Regions from separate parts of the Homo sapiens genome. Here regions 1, 2, 3, 5, 6 and 7 are each linked to region 4. The links are contacts of gene promoters, found by promoter capture Hi-C in blood cells and fetal thymus (Javierre and others, 2016). All regions are on one chromosome and are shown on one strand. The core of a region is centred on a gene start or on the middle of the fragment in contact, and the rest is flanking DNA. Distances in the headings are between cores, read along the strand shown. Region 1 overlaps ZNF45-AS1 (ZNF45 antisense RNA 1). Region 2 has its middle 5.7 kb from the start of ZNF155. Region 3 has its middle 21 kb from the start of ZNF233. Region 4 holds the start of AURKC (aurora kinase C). Region 5 overlaps ZNF45 (zinc finger protein 45). Region 6 overlaps ZNF223 (zinc finger protein 223). Region 7 overlaps ZNF284 (zinc finger protein 284).

Region 1 (2,725 bases), core at 62-2,561, about 13 Mb after region 4:
TAGTGTGTAAGAACACAATTTTTTTGCATATTGATCTTCCTGTAACTTTGCTGAACTCATTTACTAGTCTTATTAGTTTTTTGTGATTTCCTTAGGACTTTATGTATATAAAATCATATCTGCAAATATAGCTTTACTTCTTCATTGTACTTCTTCATTTCCATATGGATGTCTCTTATTTCATTTATTTGCCTAGTTGCCCTGGCTAGAACCTCCAGCATGTATCAAATAGAAGTGGTGAGAGTTGGCTGGGCGTGGTGGCTCATGCCTGTAATTCCAGCACTTTGAGAGACTGAGGCAGGGAGATCACTTGAGGTCAGGAGTTCAAGACCAGCCTGGGCAACATGGTGAAACCCCATCTCTACTAAAAATACAAAAATTAGACGGGCGTGGTGGTAGGTGCCTTTAATTCCAGCTACTAGGAGGCTGAGGCAGGGGAATCCCTTGAACACGGAAGGCGGAGGTTGCCGTGAGCTGAGATCGCGCCACTGTACTCCAGCCTGGGCAACAGGGCAAGACTCCTGTCTCAAAAAAAAAAAAAAAAAAAAAAAGTGGTGAGAGTGCACATCTTTGTCTTGTCCCTGATCTTAGAAAGTACTCTGTCTTTCACCATTAAGTATGATATTGGCTGTGGGTGTTTTATAGGTGGTATGTTGAAGAAGTTCCCTTCCATTTCTAATTTGTTGAATGTGTTTTTTATCATGAACAGGTGTGCACATTTCATGGATTTCTCTCTTTTTTTTGTTTCCTTCTGCCTACTTTGGGTTTCAGATGTTCTTTTTTTCTTGTTTCTTAAGGTAAAAGCTTAGGTCACTATATTAGTCTGTTCTCACACTGCTATAAAGAAATCCCTAAGACTGAGTAATTTATAAAGAAAAGAGGTTTAGTTGCTCACAGTGCTGCAGGCTGTACAGGAAACACAGTGGCTTCTGCTTCTGGGGAGGTCTCAAGGAGCTTTTACTTATGGCACAAATCACATGGCTGGAGCAGGAGGAAGAGAGCAAGGGAGGAGGTGCCATGTACTTTCGAACAACCAGATCTCCTGAGAATTCACTCACTATACAGTACCAAAGGCGGATAGTGCTAAACCATTCATGAGAACTCCACACCCACGATCTATTCACCTCCCACCAGGCCCTACCGTCAACACTGGGGATTACAATTTGACATGAGATTTAGTGGGGACACAGATCCAAACCATATCAGTCACTGATGGACGAATACAGTGTTTATCTTAAGAAACAAGAGAAAAAGAAGAGCATCTGAAACCCAAACCATATCAGTCACTGAGACACTCTTCTCTTTTAATATAGGCATTTAATGCTATAAATTTTCCTTGAAGTCTTATTTTATCTACATCCTATATGTTTTGATATGTTGTTTTTATTTTTTATTTTATTTTATTTGACCTATAGACTCTGAAATGCTGGCCGGGTGTGGTGACTCACACCTGTAATCCCAGCACTCTGGGAGGCCCAGAAGGGCAGGTCACTAGGGAGTTGGAGACTAGCCTAGCTAACATGGCGAAACCCTGTCTCTACTAAAAATACAAAAATTAGCCTGGTGTACAGCTTACACCTGTAGTCCCAGCTACTTGGGAAGCTGAGGCAGGAAAATCGCTTGAACTCAGGAGGTGGAGGTTGCAGTGAGCTAAGACTGTGCCACTACACTCCAGCCTGGGTGACAGAGCAAGACTGTCTCAAAAAAAAAAAAAAAAAGTTATTTAGTTCCTGCTATCTTTTTGTTATTGATTCCTAATTTAATTCCATTGTGGAATAGAGAATGTATTTTATATAACTTGAATCCTTATAAAGCTTTTGAGATTTGTTGCATGGTCCAGGTTATGGCCTATCTTGACATATGTACTTGGAAAAATTGGGCAATTTGCTGCTGTTTGGCAGAATGTTAATGTCAATTAAATTTAATTGGTTGATAATATTGTTCAAGTTTTCTCTGTCCTTATTGATTTTTCATCTATCAATTGTCAGCAGAGTATTACTATGTTTAACTATAATTGTTATGTCAATTTCTGTAGAGTTTTACACATTTTTGTGTTTTTGGTCTTTTATCCAGTCTGTTGTTCATTCTGGGTCATTTCTACTGTTCTGTCTTCCAGTTTCCTGATTCTTTCCTCTGTTCTTTCCTTTCTGCTGCTGAGTACATCCAATGAGTTTTTAATTGGTTACTAAATTTCTCAGGAGTCAAAATTCCTTGGTGTTCCATTATATCTTTGATTTCTTTGCTGAGACATTCTATATTTTAATTTATTTCAAGCATGTTCATAATTATTGTCTGAAGCATTTTTAAGGTGGATGCTTTAAAATTCTTGTCAAATAGTTCAAATATTTCTATCATCCTAGTGTAGGCATCTATTGAGTCTTTTTCATTCAGTTTGAGATCTTCCCAGTTCTTGGTGTGGTAAGTGATTTTCTGTTAGAACTGAACATTTTTGGTTTTCTGATCTGAGGCTCTGGATCATACCTAACAAAGTACCACCGACTGGGCAGCTTAAACAACACCAATTAATTTCCTTACAGTTCTGAAGGGTAGAAGTCTGATATCAAGGTGTCAGCAGTATTGTTTCTTGTGAGGTCTCTCTCTTTGGCTTGTAGATGGCCATGTTCTTCTGGTAAACGTGCTACCTTCACACACCCTTTGTGTATCTGTGTCCTGATCTCCTCTTCTTATAAGGATACCAGTCATACTGGATTAGGGCCCACACCAA
Region 2 (2,700 bases), core at 145-2,644, about 13 Mb after region 4:
AACTCATTCTTAAGATTCTCTTCCTCTAGAACCACTTCTGGAACAAAATATCTTTTGGTCAGCGTTGAAACGGAGTAACAAAATCAATATGACATATACAAATGATTTATTGCAAGGAACTTTCTTATGCCACTGTGGGACTGGCTAAGCAACTGCAAAAAACATATGGCTATACCCCAGGATGGCTCAGATGGAACACTAACCCACGAGAGGAAGATGCTACTAAAAGGTGCAATTTCTTTTTTCAAAGAAGCTTCAGCTCTACTTTTAAATAATTTCAAGTGATTCATCAGGCCCACTGACATTATCTCACATAATATCCCTACTCAAAGCCAACTGATTATGGGCTAAATATCTACAAAATGCCTTCCATATATATATATATATATATATGTATTACTGTTTGATTAAATAACTAGGGACTGTAGTCTAGGCATGTTGTAATTAAAATTGATACCACACAGATCCTCATCATCAGAAAACTGTTTAAGGAAAAATTAATATTCAGTACACCAGGATACAGCAGGCATTAGAAATGAGGTTGGAGGTCAACTTATTTATACAGCCTTTAACATTAGTGTCATATTAGGACAATCCTGTTAGGAGCAAGTATGCTTAGTGTGTTCCTAGTTTTGTAAAATTCTATACAATTGTTACCTATATGCATAGATATGCTGAACCATCCTTACCAAAATATTCATACTTCCTATCTTCCACTTTCTTTTTTAGACTTTTCTGTACCAAAGTAATTGTTTCCAATGTCTAGACATTATTCTTGCAAGTAAAATGAGTGTATTTTTACTATAAAAATTAAAAACAACAACAAATCTATCCAGGAAGTTATTGTCATAGTGTATCAAAAAAAAAAAAAAAAAAAAAAAACACACACACACAAATGTTGTGGCATTTAGCTCAAACATTTAAATGGATATCCTACTGATATGGTCAGAGAATAATAACTTGGGAAGCTTCCCTCATTTTTCAAACACAGAGATTGAGACTCTGCAATAATTCCCAATTATAATAATGTACCCAATTTCAAAGTTAACATAGTGAACTTGCCAGGGTCATATACATAAAAGAGACCCAGTCCATCGTGAGAAGTGGCAAGAAATACTGGCCACACAAAAGCTCAGGTACTACATATGAAGCTAGGTATTCAATATTCAGTTTTATTGGGAGTCAAATACTCATGCAGTCTGTGAGACATAAATATGAACAATAAAAACAAATCAGCTGTTAATATCATCCTGTGACCAATTTGAGGACCCAGACACACACGAGGGTAGATGGAAGGCCTACCTATGGTATTTTTTATTATAAAAATATTTAAAAATGTAATCTGATGAATTTTCTTTTACAAATAATTATCTTAGAGATGAACTATTATCTGGTGATAGTTTAAGAAAACCCCACAAGACTGCAGGCCCTACTTTTCTGATACCACATGCACAAAAAGTTAACATAGCAGGCATAAGTCAGACTGCTAACTTTAAAAAGAGCTGTTTGCAACACTGGCCTTTGGCTGGAGTCAAGGAACATGGGGTTTGAGAGAGTTACCACCTTTCCATAATGGGTAGGAGTGGTCACTGCGCCTAAACTCTACAATGCAGCTTATTTGGAACACTTGCTCTTCTTCTTAGAGTTGGGAATCTTGATATGTACTAGACACATACCTACATAATCAATCTCAATAAGAACCTGTGCTGCTGGTTGCTAATGAGCTTCCATTGTAGACATTTCACAAGTAGTATCACAATTCAATGCTAGAGGAGTTGAGTCTTATGTAACACCATGCAGAGAGGACTCTGGTAAGCTTGCTTCTGGTTTCCTCTAGACAACTGCCCATGAGCCATTTCCCTTTACAGATTCTGTTTTGTATCTTGTCACTGTAATATTGTTATAAGTACAACTATAGTCTCAGTTATTTTAGTAAATCACAGAACCCAGAGGTGGTCTTAGGGACCTCCAATCTACTATCCAAACTGGCACAGCATGAATATAGCATCATGAAAATACATTATTTAGAAAATTAATTATGAAAAGCTTACTATCTCAACTAGACACTTTGAAGAATGCCTTTTAACCTAATACAGTTAAGTTACACCATGGTGTATAACTATGAATTAGCACCCAAATCAGCTCTTTGTCCGAGCTGGTTCCACACACTAAGAGACTGCTGCTGTCATGTTAAGTTCCCTGATCATGCGCATTTGTTCTTCAAAGAATCTGTTTTTTTAACCTCCACAACTATATATACCCACATTATTTCTGTCACTAGGATTTGCTTGCTTCCTGACTTATGCCTAAAGCAGAATCACACACATTAGTTATGAAGGCAGTTGACCACACTCATCAATCTGTATATCCAGGTGACCAGATACATTTTTTTATTTTGAAATATGACTTCCACATCCCTATTCCTTAATTTTGAACTGTCATATGACAATGTAGAGCAATCTTATTCAGAGTCCTTATAGGTAAGTGATTAATATTAATAATTTTTCAAATTTTTCATCACATAACTGCTTTGGTAAAATTGGTGTTCAATGAGAAATTTAAAATGCATAAAATTATAAAATGAAAAATTCCAGCAAATACTCATTGCCAGGGAAAATGTCAGAATATTCATCCACAAATGATGTACATACACACTAAAAATAACCAAATAAACAAACCCAGAAACACAAAGACACTTAG
Region 3 (2,700 bases), core at 158-2,657, about 13 Mb after region 4:
GTCTAATTCCAGGGTTCCAGGGTTGGCTTTTTCTTTTCTTCTTTTCTTTTTTTTTTTTTTTTTTTGAGATGGAGTTTCACTCGTTGCCCAGGCTGGAGTGCAATGGCACGATCTGAGCTCACTACAACATCCACCTGCTGGGTTCAATTGATTCTCCTGCCTCAGCCGAATAGCTAGGATTACAGGGGCTAACCACCACGCCTGGCTAACTTTTTGTATTTTTAGTAGAGACAGGGCTTCACCATGTTGACTAGACTGGTCTGGAACTCCTAACCTCAGGTGATCCACCCACTTCGGCCAGCCAAAGTGCTGGGATTAAAGGCGGGAGCCACTGCACCCAGTTGGCTTTTTCAAGATGGGGTCTCACTGTCACCCAGGCTGGAATGCAGTGGTCCAATCACAGCTCACTGCAGCTTCAAACTCCTGGGCTCAAGTGATCCTCCCACCTCAGCCTCCTGAGTAGTTGAGACTATAGGTGTGAGCCACTGTGCCTGGCTGACAGTCTGCTTTCTATTATACTCTACTACTTTATTACCAATATTCTGACTTGGTCTCGTTAACACTAGTTTCTCCTAAAATGCCTTGGTCCTCTCAAGAAGCAGTAGAGGGATGTGCTTTGAGAACTTTGTCAAACTACCTCTGAGAAGGTTCAGAGAATGAGAGGTAAATAAAGTAAAGCAATGCTAATCAATGGCATCCGTGACACTCACAGGCTAGGAGAGCTCCGCAACACTTCACCAGAAACCATTCCTTAACACTATCTGCAAGGAAACATTGACTGGAAGGCTCTCATCTGAATATATCTATCTTTGGATATTTCTATCAGATACTTTTCTTCATGGCCCTACGGGAACATTTTATTTGGTTTAAAGGGTCAATACCCTGAGAATAGGAAAAATTATAATGTTTGGGAGACTATGCCATTCAAAAATCATCTCTGGCATCAGTCATCCAATACTCCCGTTCTCTCTGAAAGACAGAACCCCCAAGTTCTAGTTGGATGCATGTCCACATTCCCCAGTAAATATATGAATGATACTGGGAGACAAATTTCTGATTCTTGAAGAATGAAGATGCAACATAGAATGGGGGTAAGGCTAGAAAAAAAACACTATGATATTAATTTAAGAACTAGAGATAAAAGCAGGAACTCATCATTAATTCTTTCTACCTTTCTACTTCTCTTCCTATCTGTATAACTCTTTCCCCTCCTTCCTAGAGGGAAAAAAAAAAAGGCACAGCTATTACCCAGATCTTGATGTTTAACTACCATCCCCCAATCAGAAGAATCTGAGTTCTCAAAGAAACAGCAAATTCCATGGATGGTGCAGGAAGGGTACAAGATGAGCTTGGAACACTGTATTGTGTCAGAGTAAAGATGTGCTCCAATTTATTTAAAAATACATGATGGGCAAACAGGACAGAAGGGAAACTTCCTTAGAGTAGAACAACAATCTAACAAGTGTTGGAGGAATGATGAAAGTTGAATATATCACACTTTCGCACCATCAGAGCAATTACTGATTTAGACCAGACTTACAGAATGCTTAAACTAGTGGAGGAAAATTTACTGAAAAACAAGCTATTTAGAGTCAGAAAGTGTCTCCCCAGGAGTTGCCTTTGTAATTATTAATTACAAAGAAAAAAATAGTAATTTCGCAGTGGAAAAACCCAGCACCGCCCTCCCCAATCAAGTGTTCCAAGTTAACATCACCTATAAAGGTACAAACATACCTCGTTTCCTCACGTGCTGCACACCACTTACAGAGTCCTCATGGGAAAAAAATGTGTAATTTAAATCCAATTGTAAGGAAACCTCAGGCAAATCCAAATTAAGAGACATTCTACAAAATAATCTCAAAAATATCAAGGTCATTAAAAACAGAGGTAGCAACTCAGATTAAAGGAGTCTAAATGCAATGTGTAATCTTTGGACTCTAGAGCAGAAAAACAATAAATATATTATTGGGATAATTTTAAGATTTAAATAAGGTCTGTAGGTTACATAGTGTTATGTATCAATAATAAATTTTCTTTCTGGGTGCAGTGGCTCATGCCTGTAAACCTTGCATTTTGGAAGGCTGAGGTGGAACGATCACTTAAGCCCAAGAGTTCGATACCAGCTTAGACAACATAGCGAGAGCCCATCTCTACAAAAATCTTAAAAATTAGGTGGGCATGGTGGTCCACGCCTGCAGTCCCAGCTACTTGAAAGGCTGAGTGGGGAGGATTGCTTGAGCCCAGGAGTTCAAGGCTGCGGTGAGCTATAATCACCACCCTGCACTCAGCCTGGGCAACAGAATGAGACCCTGTCTCTAAATAAATAAATCACTGGAATGTTGTACTGTAACTAAGTAGATATCCTTGTTCTTAGGAAAGCACACTTAAGTATTTAGTGTAGGGAGAAGGATGTCTGTAACATATTCATATGGCAAAACTTTATATATAAATGCGTTTAGTATGTATAAGTATCAGTATATACACGCTCATACTTATTGAGAGAATAATTCAAACATCTTAACAACTGGTGAATCTGGGTAAAGAGTATATGGGAGCTTTTATATAATTTCTGTAATTTTTCTGAAAGTTTCAAATTATTTCAAAATAAGTTTAAAGAAATATAAAAATATACATAAAGTAAAATCCCATTATTTAGAGAGAACTATAATACCCATTCATCTATGCGTTTTTACAAAATAG
Region 4 (2,700 bases), core at 167-2,666:
AATAACAACAGCCCTATCTGGGAGCAAGTGAGGGGAGAACGGAGAACAGGAACCAGGATTCGAGTGTCTGACCCAGGGTAGGAGGTAGTGTAAATGGAATGAACTGCAGAGAAGTCTTCAAGGTACAAGTGCAGGGTTTACTTGGGGTTAGTATTTGGGGAAAATGCTGGGCTCAGACGTCAAAGATGAAAGAGGAAGCAGAGACTGTCCTTACTGTAGATGAGCCTGGATCTCAATTTCCCGGCGCAGCTGGTGCTCCAGTCCTTCCTTCTCTATCTGCGACTTGAAGAGAACCTTCAGGGCCACAATGAAATGGCTTTCCTTGAGCCGAGCCAGGTACACATTCCCAAATTTCCCCTTGCCCAGGGGACGCCCGATTTCAAAGTCATCGACTGTGAGGCGCCGCCTGACAGGAGAGGAAGAAAAAAGCCTCAGCTTGGGAGGTAGGGTAGGCGGAGGGAAAGTCAGGGATGCCAATGCTCCCCTTCCTCTTTCATTGTATCCTTCCTCTGCCGCTTTCCCTTCTCACACAGACCCAGCCCTATCAGTAGTTCTCGTTCCCAGGAGCCAGCACCCCACACACCCAGTCTGTTCTTCATCCCCACGTCCCACCTTCCTTCCTTTTCCAGATACCAATCCCAAGGGACTCACATGGCTGGGCTGCTGGGCTGCTGGGCTGTTTGGTTTGCTGTAGCCACTGAAAGAGAGGAGGAGGAGGGAGATAGGAAGGGAGAGGGGAGGGAAGGAGAAGGGGAGAGAAAGAGAGGAGAGGAGAACAGTAGAGAAGGGAATAGGGAGCGAGAGGTGAGGGGAAGAAGGGGAGGAGAGAAAGAGAGGGAAGGGGAAGGCAGGGAGAGGGGGAGGGAGAGGTAAGGGGAAGAAGAAAGAGTAAGGTAAGGTAGGGAGGGGAGGAGGAGGTGAAGAAGAGGCAGAGAGAAAGGAAGGGGAGGAGAGAGTAGGGGAGGGAGAGGTGAAAGAAAGAATTGGAGGGAAGGGAGGGAGTGGGGAGAAAAGAAGAGCGTTGGGGAGGAGGAGAGGGAGGGGAGATGTCAACACATGTGTCTTCTGTGCACCCGACCCCTGGCCCAGTCCCCAGCCTTCCCTGCGTCCTTTCTCTGGCGCTGGCTCTCACACTCTTCGCCTGCAGGTTGAGCTTTGCCCAGCTGCACCACAGCTCTGGGGGAGCTCATGGGGAGAAGAGGTGAGGGCGCGGACGCCTTCCTGAACCCTCTGGATGGCTGTTCCCGTTCACAGGGTCCTGAAAGGGGTGGGGGGTCACTTTCTGGCCGGGGCGCTTCCAATCCTGCTCGTCCTGCAGCCTCACTGATGTCTCACTGCTACACAGGCTTCGGGATCCGCGGCGTCGTGAGCAGCCGTGGCTGCGCGGCCTTCTTTTATACCCGGCACCAACCGCTCAGAGAGGTACTTCCTGGCTGGCTCCTATTGGCTGAAATTCCTGACGCCATCGGAAGTGCGCCCAATAGAAAGGACAGAAACGGGAGCCTCAGTCCAGGGTTCCCGGGTTGGGGCGGAACTGGAGTGCTGCGGTCCGGGCTGGGCACTGAAAGCGAGGGCCAGGGGTGAGGCCCGAGAAGGAAGGAGACAGAGGGTGCGGAGAGGTGGTGATGGCCGTTGTGGGAATGAACAACGCATACACCCACGGGGTGTGCATGCGTCAACTAGGAGAGAGCCGCGATGCACGTGGGAATGAACAGACGCCCACTCCTGACGTGCTGGAGCCTCGTGCAGCCCGTGACCCTAAACCACTTCGCGCCTTGTGCAGCCGGCGACCCCAAAACCACCTTGCTTCAAGGTCACGTCCGATTCAGGCCACTCTCCAGGGTCACCGCGATGGGGCTCCCTGAAGCCTGCGGCTGTGCCTGCTCACAGCCAGGACGCCACCAGTCCAGCTCACTTACCCCTCTCCTCCCACTCGCCAAATATTTGTTGGACCCTGTAATCAGTTTGTGGATTTGGCCTCAGATCGTAAAATCAGCCCCCACGTATTTGTTTAGCAAACACATAAGTTTCAAAAACATTAAAAATTGAATTCTTTTAGACAGGGAACATATCTTGCAGAAATATAATTGAAGGCCTGGCGTGATGGCTCATGCCTGTAATCCCAGCACTTTGGGAGGCCGAGGCGGGCGGATCACCTGAGGTAGGCAGTTCGAGACCAGCCTGGCCAACAGGGCGAAACCCCGTTTCTACTACAAAAATTAGCCGGGTGTGGTGGCGCATGCCTGTAATCCCACCTACTCAAAAGGCTGAGGCAAGAGAATCGCTTGAACCCTGGAGGCGGAGGTTGCAGTGAGCCAAGATCATGCCACTGCACTCCAGCCTGGGCGACAGAAGGAGAACGAGACTCTGTCTCAAAAAAAACAAAAACAAAAACAAAAAAACCCAAAAACAAAAAAGCTCGTCTCAAAATATTTGGGGAGACCTATTTGAGTAATAAAACTCTGGTCTCTCATTTAGCTCGATTGATGTGAATTAAACCCTTTATTGCAATTATCCTGTCTTGATAAGTCGACTCTATCTGGGGAGCAGGGAAAATAATGAACCCATTAGGTGGTTACAATAGGTGGATCAGGGTAATGGCGCTTAGCTCAGGCCAACCATTCCTTTCTCAGAGGCTTTCCCAAACCTGTCTGTTTGTTTGTTTATTGAGACGGAGTCTTGCTCTGTCACCCAGGCTGG
Region 5 (2,700 bases), core at 189-2,688, about 13 Mb after region 4:
GCTTACGCCTATAATCCCAGCACTTTGGGAGGCCAAGGCGGGTGGATCACTTGAGGTCAGGAGGTCGAGACCAGCCTGGCCAAAATAGTGAAACCTCATCTGTACTAAAAAAACAAAAGAAACAAAAAAAATTAGCCAGGAATGGTGGCGGGTGCCCATAATCCAGCTACTGGGGAGGCTGAGGCAGGATAATCTTTTGAACCCGGAAGGCTGAGGTTGCAGTAAGCTGAGATCATTCCACTGCACTCCAGCCTGGGCCACAGCGCAAGACTCCATTTCAGAAAAATAAATAAATAAGTATTTCTTCTAAGATTGGAAGGTTTTATGTTTCCCTTTTCAATAGTAAGGGTTCTTCTATCTGAAGTAAGAGAACTAAGAATAATTTACTAATAAATCAAGCAGTAATTAACTAATACTAAGCTTTTAATCTGGGTATTTTACTCGTTTCCACCCTCCATAGAATCAGAATCATACCCTGAGAGCTACAAGAACTCCATTTTTCACTGTGCAGAGGCTCTCTGCTGAAGGGTCAAGTGGAATCTGGAATCCAGCCCATGTTTCCCCATCATCAAGCCATGTGAAGCTGCAGACTCCGTGAGTGCCTTAGTCCATTTGTGCTGCTATAACAAACAATACCATAGGCTGGGTGGCTTAAACAACAAACCTTTATAACTCACAGTCCTGGAGACTGGGAAGTCCATGATCAAGTCACTGGCAAATCCAATGTCTAATGAGGCCACTCTTACTGGTTCGCAGAAGCTGTTGTCTTGTATCTTCCTGGGAGGAAGAGAGAAAGAGCTAGGTTACTTGCTTTTCTTACAAGGAAAGCAATCCCATTATGGAGGCTTCACCCTCATGACCTAATTACCTCCTAAAGGCCCCACCTCCCAATAACATCACATTAGGGCTTCAACATAAGAATTTTGAGGGGACACAGACATTGGTCCACAGCAGCAAGGGAGGGGCTCCCTGACTGTTTCATGTAAAGCATCTGCATGGGTTTATGTGTAACTTCTATTGATTGTTTAAGCTGCCAGAAACTGTTCCACATGTTTTGTGTATACTTAGTCACTTTCACTGACCTTCCTATGAAGTAGGTATTATTATTACATCCAGTTTATAGATTAGACATTAGAGCACAAAGTACTAGCAAGTTGGACATGCCTGTATTCCAGTACTGGTGGGCTGGTTCTGGAGTCTAGACTGTTCACAACTCTGTTCTCTACTCCCTCAAGCAGCTCCCTTGGCTTCAGAGTCCAATCTCCATTTCTGTGTCTGTCTTTTACCCCTAACTCTGGAGCCCTCATTTCTCCTTCCATGAGATCTTAGACTCCCATCTGCTTATTTTTGTCTTTAGAAGCAACAGAGAGACAAGATTTAGAATACTGGCTCTGGTATGAAAGCTGGATTCAGGTACTGTTCCTGCCTCTTGACCTCACCAAGCCTCAGCTTCCTCGCCTGTTAAATGGATACAATTGTCGTCATTATCATCTGTTGAGAACTCCCTAAAATGCCAGGTACTATGCCAAGGGCATTGCATAAATTCACTCATTGATTCCTCACAGTAATCCTATGATTAACATCCTGTTTTCATTTCCCTTCTTATAGCTGAGCATAGGCACAGAAGTTTAGGTGTTTGGACCAAGGTCACACAACTGATACAACAGTAGCTTCTTCACAGGTATGTGTGAAGTACCTTAATGAAACATCATGTGCCAAGTTCTTCATAAGGTCCCTAATATGTATTTAGTTAAATATCACCATTTTTGTTGTTATTATTGTGCTTCCTATAGCTTGTTAATTTCAGTGACATTATCTAATTTATAGTTGCATAAATCTTGCAGAGTCATGATTTTTTATTAAATTTTCTCTGTCTCTATGATAGTCTTTTTAAGGCCCTACTGTTAAAGTAAATTTTGCAAGGTCTTTTTTTTTTTTTTTAGATTTTTTTTTTTTCTCTTTAGAGATCACTCTGTTGGCCAGGTTGGTCTTGAACTCTTGGCCTCAAGCAGTCCTCCCACTTTGGCCTCCCAGAGTGCTAGGATTACAGGCATGAGCCACTCTACACAGCCAAATTTTGCAAGGTCTTATACCTTTTAGAAACCAGTCCATATAGTCAAATTCATAGAGATAACGTGGTTATCAGGGGCTGGGAGGGGGAATGGGGAATTATTACTTAATGGGTACATAAAAAATTCTGATGATGGATAGTGGTGATGGCTGCACAACAATGTAAATGTACTTACTGAATGTAACCACTTAAAAAATGGTTAAAATGGTAAATTTTATGTTACATATTTTACTATCAAAAAAAGCAGTCATCTATGTACAGTAGTCCCCCCTTATCCACAGCAGATACCTTCCAAGTCCCCCAGTGAATGACTTAAACCTCAGATATTACTGAACCCTAAATATACTATGTTTTTCCTTTACCTACATACTTATGATAAAGCTTAATTTATAAATTAGGCACAGTAAGAGACTAACAACAATAACTTATAATAAAATAGAATAATGATAAAATACTGTAACAAAAGTTCTATAAACATGGTCTCTCTCTCTCTCTCAGAATATCTTACTGCACTGTACTCACCTATTTTTGGGCCATAGTTGACTTCAGGTAACTGAAACCACAGAAAGCAAAACTATGGATAGGAAGGACCACTGTAATCTTAAATACTATTGCAAAAGCCTCAAATT
Region 6 (2,700 bases), core at 164-2,663, about 13 Mb after region 4:
AGGACCACCCTTCATGTGGTCCTGCTTCTGGAAAAGTCTTCATCTCAGGTTGGATCTTGCCTCCTATCAGAATACAAAATTAAGAGATCAGGACAAGCTATGCCCTGTTCAGTGTTTTTAAGAGTTCACACTTAGGACATGGTATGAAACTTCAACGAATGTTCAGTTTGTGTTTTCCAAGTGCACCCTGGTTTCTGGTTTGCATGAGAGTAATCTAAAACCATACCATGTCACTGGGGACGGTGGCTCACACCCATAATCCCAGCACTTTGGGAGACCAAGGCACTTTGGGAAGCTGAGGCAGGCAGATCACTTGAGGTCAGGAATTCGGGACCAGCCTGACCAACATAGTGAAACCCCGTCTCTATTAAAAATACAAAAATCAGCTAGGTGTGGTGGCACACACCTATAATCCCAGATACTTGGGAGGCTGAGGCAGGAGAATTGCTTGAACCCAGGAGGCGCAGGTTGCAGCAAGCCGAGATCGTGCCACTGCACTCCAGCCTGGGCGACACAGTGAGACTCTGCCTCAAAAAAAAAAAAAAAAAAGAAAAGAAAGAAAAAAACATACCACATTTCAAATAAAAAATCATTGATAGAAATAAAAGGTTTAATAAAAAATTAATATGACACATACATTTAACCTGTTACTGTTTTTAAAATTTCCAACTCAGTCTGAAATTTTACATGATAAATTACTAAACTATTATGTACGTAATGAAATATGAATCAAAAGGAACTCTAAGGGAAAGCAGTAACATAATAAATACTTCGTATATTTGCCTGTATATTATATATCCTTATAAAGAAGTTAACCTTCCTTTCAGTTTAAGATGGCTTAAAAAACATTTTTAAAAATAAGAAAAGGAGTTAACCTAACTAAAAAGAGGTCAGGACTTTGTCCTCAGTATCTGAGAGGTAATCTGTAGAATCTTGAAGGGGCATGCCTGAGGAGAGTCTCTCTGTTTGCTTGGGGGCAAATCTTGGGTAACTCTTGACAGTGAAATAATATAATTTAGGGTTGTGACTAGCCACAGCTTTGGGGGATGGGAAATGGCAGGTGGCATTCCCCATGTCAGAAAAAATAACGATGTGATTTAATGTAGGTCTTTAGGTCACAGGGAACCAGTGGACCAAAAGACTAAATAACCACACAGGAATCAACCAACCAATTATGGCTATGTAATGGAGCCCCAATAATTACTTGGATCCCAGCACTCAGTTGAGTTTCCCTGATTGGTGGTTCCTTGTGTCTAAGTCACATGCTAATTTTGGGTATGTAACATGCCCGACTCTACTGTGAGAATACAATAGGAGATCCACATTTGGTACTTCACTGGACTCTGTCTTATTTGGTTTTTCCCCCTTGGTTAACTATAATATGCATCTTTTGCTTGTAAAAATCAGTAACTGTGAGAATAAATACATCCAGTGAGTTCTGAGGGTCTTTCTAGGAAATTATTGAATGTGAAGGTAGTTTTGAAAAACTGCCGAATTTGCACTTGGAGTGAAGTGAGAGCAGTTCTCTGTAAAATGTCCCATTAAACTTTTTAGTTTAACCCTTCATGATACTAAACATCAAACACCTTAGAATGTTTATATCTACAAATCGAAAGTATTCCTATACAAGAATTTTGCATGACACATATAAAATACTTAATCTTATTTTTCTGTTTTGATATGGATGATAAGTTGGTTATCTGAAAGAGTACAGAGACAGACAACTGCAGTTCTGAGGGGAATCTGAAAGGCTGTCCTTCCAGAGGTCCACAAAGGAGGATGCTCTTCATCAGACAATCAATGATGTGAAGAATCACTTGGAATGAAAAGAAAGCCTATGATGTAGATAAACAGGCCTTTTTAACTGTTTTTATATTCAAGACTACACATCAGTGAGCTGAAATAAAGTTAAAACCTTCAATAGACATTTATAGAAAGGAGCCAGAATGAAAATTATCACAGTGTGGAGACAAGCAGGAAAGGTGTCGTTACATGAAATGTCAGCTAAAGTCACTCACATACACCTACATGCATGAAAACTGTCCAGGTTATACTGAAAGAGGTGTTTCTTATTATGGTTCATGCTCACAAAATGTTCAAAACTTTGTCAGGATATTACCAAGTCCTGAATTAGGTAAATTTTTCTGATGGAGAGTTAAGTTCCAAAGGTTGAAACTTGGAAAATATTAATAGGTAAGTGGGTACCCATCAGTATACCTAGCCAAACTCCACCCTTAAGCCTAGAACCTCAGCCCTAAGTGAAAACAGATGACCCCATTTTTCTGCCCCAATGTTGCTTTTTTTGGCCTGCCTGCCACTATCCTGTGACCATAAAAGATTTCAGCTGGCAGAGCAACACAAGCAGCTGAGTGGCAAGGATACAAGTCGCTGAGCGGTGAGCAGAGAAGCAACTGAGTGTCGGAAAGTATGGATAGATGTGGCTAACTTCAGAAGGTGCTGCTTTGGAGAGGGGCCCAGCCACAAATGGCCTGGCTTCAGGAACATGTTGATCCCCTTCCCAGCCCCTTTCCAGCCTCCTTTTCTGCTGAGAACCACTCACCACTCAATAAAGTCTTCTGCGTTCATCACCTTTCACACAGTTCATGTGACCTGGTTCTTCCTGGATGCTGGACAAGAACCCAGGTGCCAAGAGGGCAGGGGCTGCTACCCTGATGCTCCACTGAGCTGATTGGCACTTGG
Region 7 (2,700 bases), core at 138-2,637, about 13 Mb after region 4:
CTCCCCAAATTGATACACAGGGTTAAAATAATTACTATCAAAATTCCAGCAAGATATTTTGTAGATATAAAATTATTCTAAAATTTATATGGAAAGGCAAAGGAACTAGAATATGAGTATGGTTAGGGTTGTCTTCACAGTTGAAAATCTTTCATTTAACCAGAGACATTATAGGGGAGACACTCTGTAAAAAGCTGGTCTCAAACTCTTAGATTCAATTGATCCTTCTGCCTCAGCCTCCCAAAGTGCTGGAATTACAGGTGTGAGCCACCATGCCTGGCCACTTACAAGAGACTTACAAAAGTGAGGCACTAAATTATTAAAGTAAAAATCAATAAATTTCCTTGAAAAATGCCCTGTATAAATGTGATTATTGTATTTTCAGCTTCAGTTTGATTTCACATCACCATCAAAATCAAGGAGCACATAAAAGAAAGCAAGCTTGTTTACTTTTATTTTTATTTTTATTTTTTTGAGATGGAGTCTCACTCTGTCACTCAGGCTGGAGTGCAGTGGCGTGATCTCGGCTCACCGCAACCTCCACCTCCCTGGTTCAAGCAATTCCCTTGCCTCAGCCTCCTGAGTAGCTGGGATTACAGGCACACGCCACCACCACACCCAGCTAATTGTTTTGTATTTTTAATAGTGATGGGTTTTCACCATGTTGGCCAGACTAGTCTCAAACTCCTGACCTCAGGCACTCTGCCCACCTCGGCCTCCCAAAGCGCTGGGATTACAGGTGTGAGCCACCGCACCTGGCCAAAAGCAAGGTTATTATACTCACTTTGGCACGGGAGAAGACCTCTCATAACCAGCAGACAATTTTCTCAGAAAACCTATGTGTAATGAATGTGGACAAGGATTCGGTGATGGCTCTAGACTTGAAATTCATCACTAACTAGATTTAGGAGACAGCCCCAATATCTTTAATAAAATATATGGGCTTTAACGATAGCTGAGTTTTTCCCATTCATGAGTTTTCATCCATAAGCCCATCACCTTGTCAGTGTTGGAAACTTCAGAAATGTGATGCACCTTCAGATGGATTAAAGTCTTCACGTTTATTAAGGAGTCCATGACAATGCTACATCTTTTACAGATAATGAGTATGGTTAGGGTTGTCTTCACATTTGAAACCCTTTCATTTAACCAGAGACATTACAGGGGAGACACTCTATAAAAAGTATGTGCTTTAAATATTCCTGCTTATGTTATGTTCATCTTTATGCCAATATTTTTATGCTGTCCAATTCATCAGATTTTCTTTGTTGTTTAGTGATTTCCACGCCCCCCACCCCCAAATACTAGCCTTCCCAAGTTTGTGGAAACAGTGTACTATTTTGTTATAGAAACTAAAGAAGATCAATCAGGGGTGGTGGTCCATGCCTGTAGTCCCAGCTTCTCAGGGGATTGAAGCAAGAGGATCACTTAGGCCCAGGAGTTCGAGGCTATAGGGCACTGTAACTGCATCTGTGAATAAGCAATCCAGCCTGGGCAACACCGAGAGACCCCATCTCAAAAACAAAACAAAACAAAACAAAATGCTGTGCGCATGGCTCAGGCCTGTAATCCCAGCACTTTGGAAGGCTGAGGAGGGAGAATCGCTTGAGCCCAGGAGTTTGAGACCAATTTGGGCAACATAGTGAGACCCCATCTCTACAACAAAAATTTAGCCAGGCGTGTTGTTGCATGCCTATAGTCCCAGCTTTTGAGGGGCTGAGGCAGAAGGATTTCTTGAGCCTGGGAGGTCAAGGCTGCAGGGAGCCGTGATCATTCCACTGCATGCCAGTCTGGGTGACAGAGCAAGACTGTCTCAAAAGAAAAAAAAAAAAAAAGCCAATTCTTGCCTAATAATGGTCAGAGTTTATAGTGGTACAACCAGTTTGAAATACTTTTCGGAAGTATCTACTAAAATTAACATATTCATATCTTATAACTCTTTGCTGTCACATATATCACATTATTAAGGTTTCTCTACAGAACAGACACTGAATTTGAAGATGTGAGCCCTGACTGAAGCATGTACCACAATCTCCACACTTCCATGGTTTTTCTCCAGTGTAGATCCTCTTATGCATATCAGCATTCAAGTGATCCAGCAATCCCACTACTAGCTGTATATCCAAAGGAAAGGAAATCAGTGTGTTGAACTCCTATCTGCACTCCTATATTTATTATAGTACTATTTGCAATAGCTAACATATGGAACCAATCTAAGTGTTCATCAACAGAAAATGGTAAAGAAAATGTGGCATACATACACAAAGGTACACTATTTAACCATAAAAAATAATAAAATTCTGTCATTTATGGCAAGATAAAGATAAGCTTTGGAGAACATGATGTTGAGTGATGTAAATTCAGGCCCAGAAAGATAAATACCACATGTTTTCACACATATGTGGAAGCTAAAAAGTTGACATCATAGAAGCAGCATAGCATTGGCTGGGCACGGTGGCTCATGCCTGTAATCCCAGCACTTTGGGAGGCCAAGGCAGGTGGACCATTTGAGTTTGGGAGTTCAAGGCTAGCCTGGCCAATGTGGTGAAACCCCATCTTCACTAAAAATACAAAAATTTTTAGGCATGGTGGGCATGGTGGCTCACGCCTGTAATCCCAGCACTTTGGGAGGCCGAGGTGGGCGGATCATCTGAAGTCAGGAGTTCAAGTCCAGGTTGGCCAATATGGCAAAACCCCATC

The links. The method cuts DNA at HindIII sites, captures the fragments that hold promoters and counts their contacts. A CHiCAGO score of 5 or more calls a contact.
Region 1: a fragment that was not itself captured here is called in contact with the fragment with the promoter of AURKC in region 4 in 1 of 17 cell types (non-activated CD4 T cells); the score reaches 6.7 in non-activated CD4 T cells.
Region 2: a contact is called between a fragment that was not itself captured here and the fragment with the promoter of AURKC in region 4, in 1 of 17 cell types (non-activated CD4 T cells). The highest score is 6.1, in non-activated CD4 T cells.
Region 3: a fragment that was not itself captured here is called in contact with the fragment with the promoter of AURKC in region 4 in 1 of 17 cell types (total CD4 T cells); the score reaches 5.4 in total CD4 T cells.
Region 5: a contact is called between a fragment that was not itself captured here and the fragment with the promoter of AURKC in region 4, in 1 of 17 cell types (non-activated CD4 T cells). The highest score is 8.1, in non-activated CD4 T cells.
Region 6: a fragment that was not itself captured here is called in contact with the fragment with the promoter of AURKC in region 4 in 1 of 17 cell types (non-activated CD4 T cells); the score reaches 6.7 in non-activated CD4 T cells.
Region 7: a contact is called between a fragment that was not itself captured here and the fragment with the promoter of AURKC in region 4, in 1 of 17 cell types (non-activated CD4 T cells). The highest score is 8.1, in non-activated CD4 T cells.

Annotation. Positions count from the first base shown.
Region 1 is chr19:43,903,991-43,906,715 of GRCh38, reverse strand. The region is part of intron 1 of ZNF45-AS1 (ZNF45 antisense RNA 1); the gene reads right to left. Among named protein-coding and RNA genes, the nearest start is that of ZNF45-AS1, 3.5 kb to the right of the region's middle. The HindIII fragment of the contact is 1,010 bases long and covers 807-1,816 here.
Region 2 is chr19:43,977,116-43,979,815 of GRCh38, reverse strand. It overlaps a transcript of ZNF221 not described here. Among named protein-coding and RNA genes, the nearest start is that of ZNF155, 5.7 kb to the left of the region's middle. The HindIII fragment of the contact is 848 bases long and covers 971-1,818 here.
Region 3 is chr19:44,237,921-44,240,620 of GRCh38, reverse strand. No RefSeq gene overlaps it. Among named protein-coding and RNA genes, the nearest start is that of ZNF233, 21 kb to the left of the region's middle. The HindIII fragment of the contact is 4,782 bases long and covers 1-2,700 here.
Region 4 is chr19:57,229,739-57,232,438 of GRCh38, reverse strand. It overlaps AURKC (aurora kinase C), which reads right to left and starts at 1,416. Exons shown (of 7, transcript NM_001015878.2): 1 at 1,133-1,416; 2 at 652-697; 3 at 215-406. The coding sequence starts at 1,190. The HindIII fragment of the contact is 17,293 bases long and covers 1-2,700 here.
Region 5 is chr19:43,923,219-43,925,918 of GRCh38, reverse strand. It overlaps ZNF45 (zinc finger protein 45), which reads left to right. Exons shown (of 10, transcript NM_003425.4): 4 at 461-594; 5 at 1,358-1,517; 6 at 1,609-1,681. It overlaps ZNF45-AS1 (ZNF45 antisense RNA 1), which reads right to left. Exons shown (of 3, transcript NR_184050.1): 2 at 665-777. Among named protein-coding and RNA genes, the nearest start is that of ZNF45, 11 kb to the left of the region's middle. The HindIII fragment of the contact is 2,032 bases long and covers 423-2,454 here.
Region 6 is chr19:44,063,427-44,066,126 of GRCh38, reverse strand. ZNF223 (zinc finger protein 223) reads right to left here. Exons shown (of 5, transcript NM_013361.6): 5 at 1-63. Among named protein-coding and RNA genes, the nearest start is that of ZNF284, 7.4 kb to the left of the region's middle. The HindIII fragment of the contact is 3,327 bases long and covers 1-2,700 here.
Region 7 is chr19:44,087,956-44,090,655 of GRCh38, reverse strand. It overlaps ZNF284 (zinc finger protein 284), which reads right to left. Exons shown (of 5, transcript NM_001037813.4): 5 at 1,043-2,700. Among named protein-coding and RNA genes, the nearest start is that of ZNF224, 5.1 kb to the left of the region's middle. The HindIII fragment of the contact is 1,887 bases long and covers 444-2,330 here.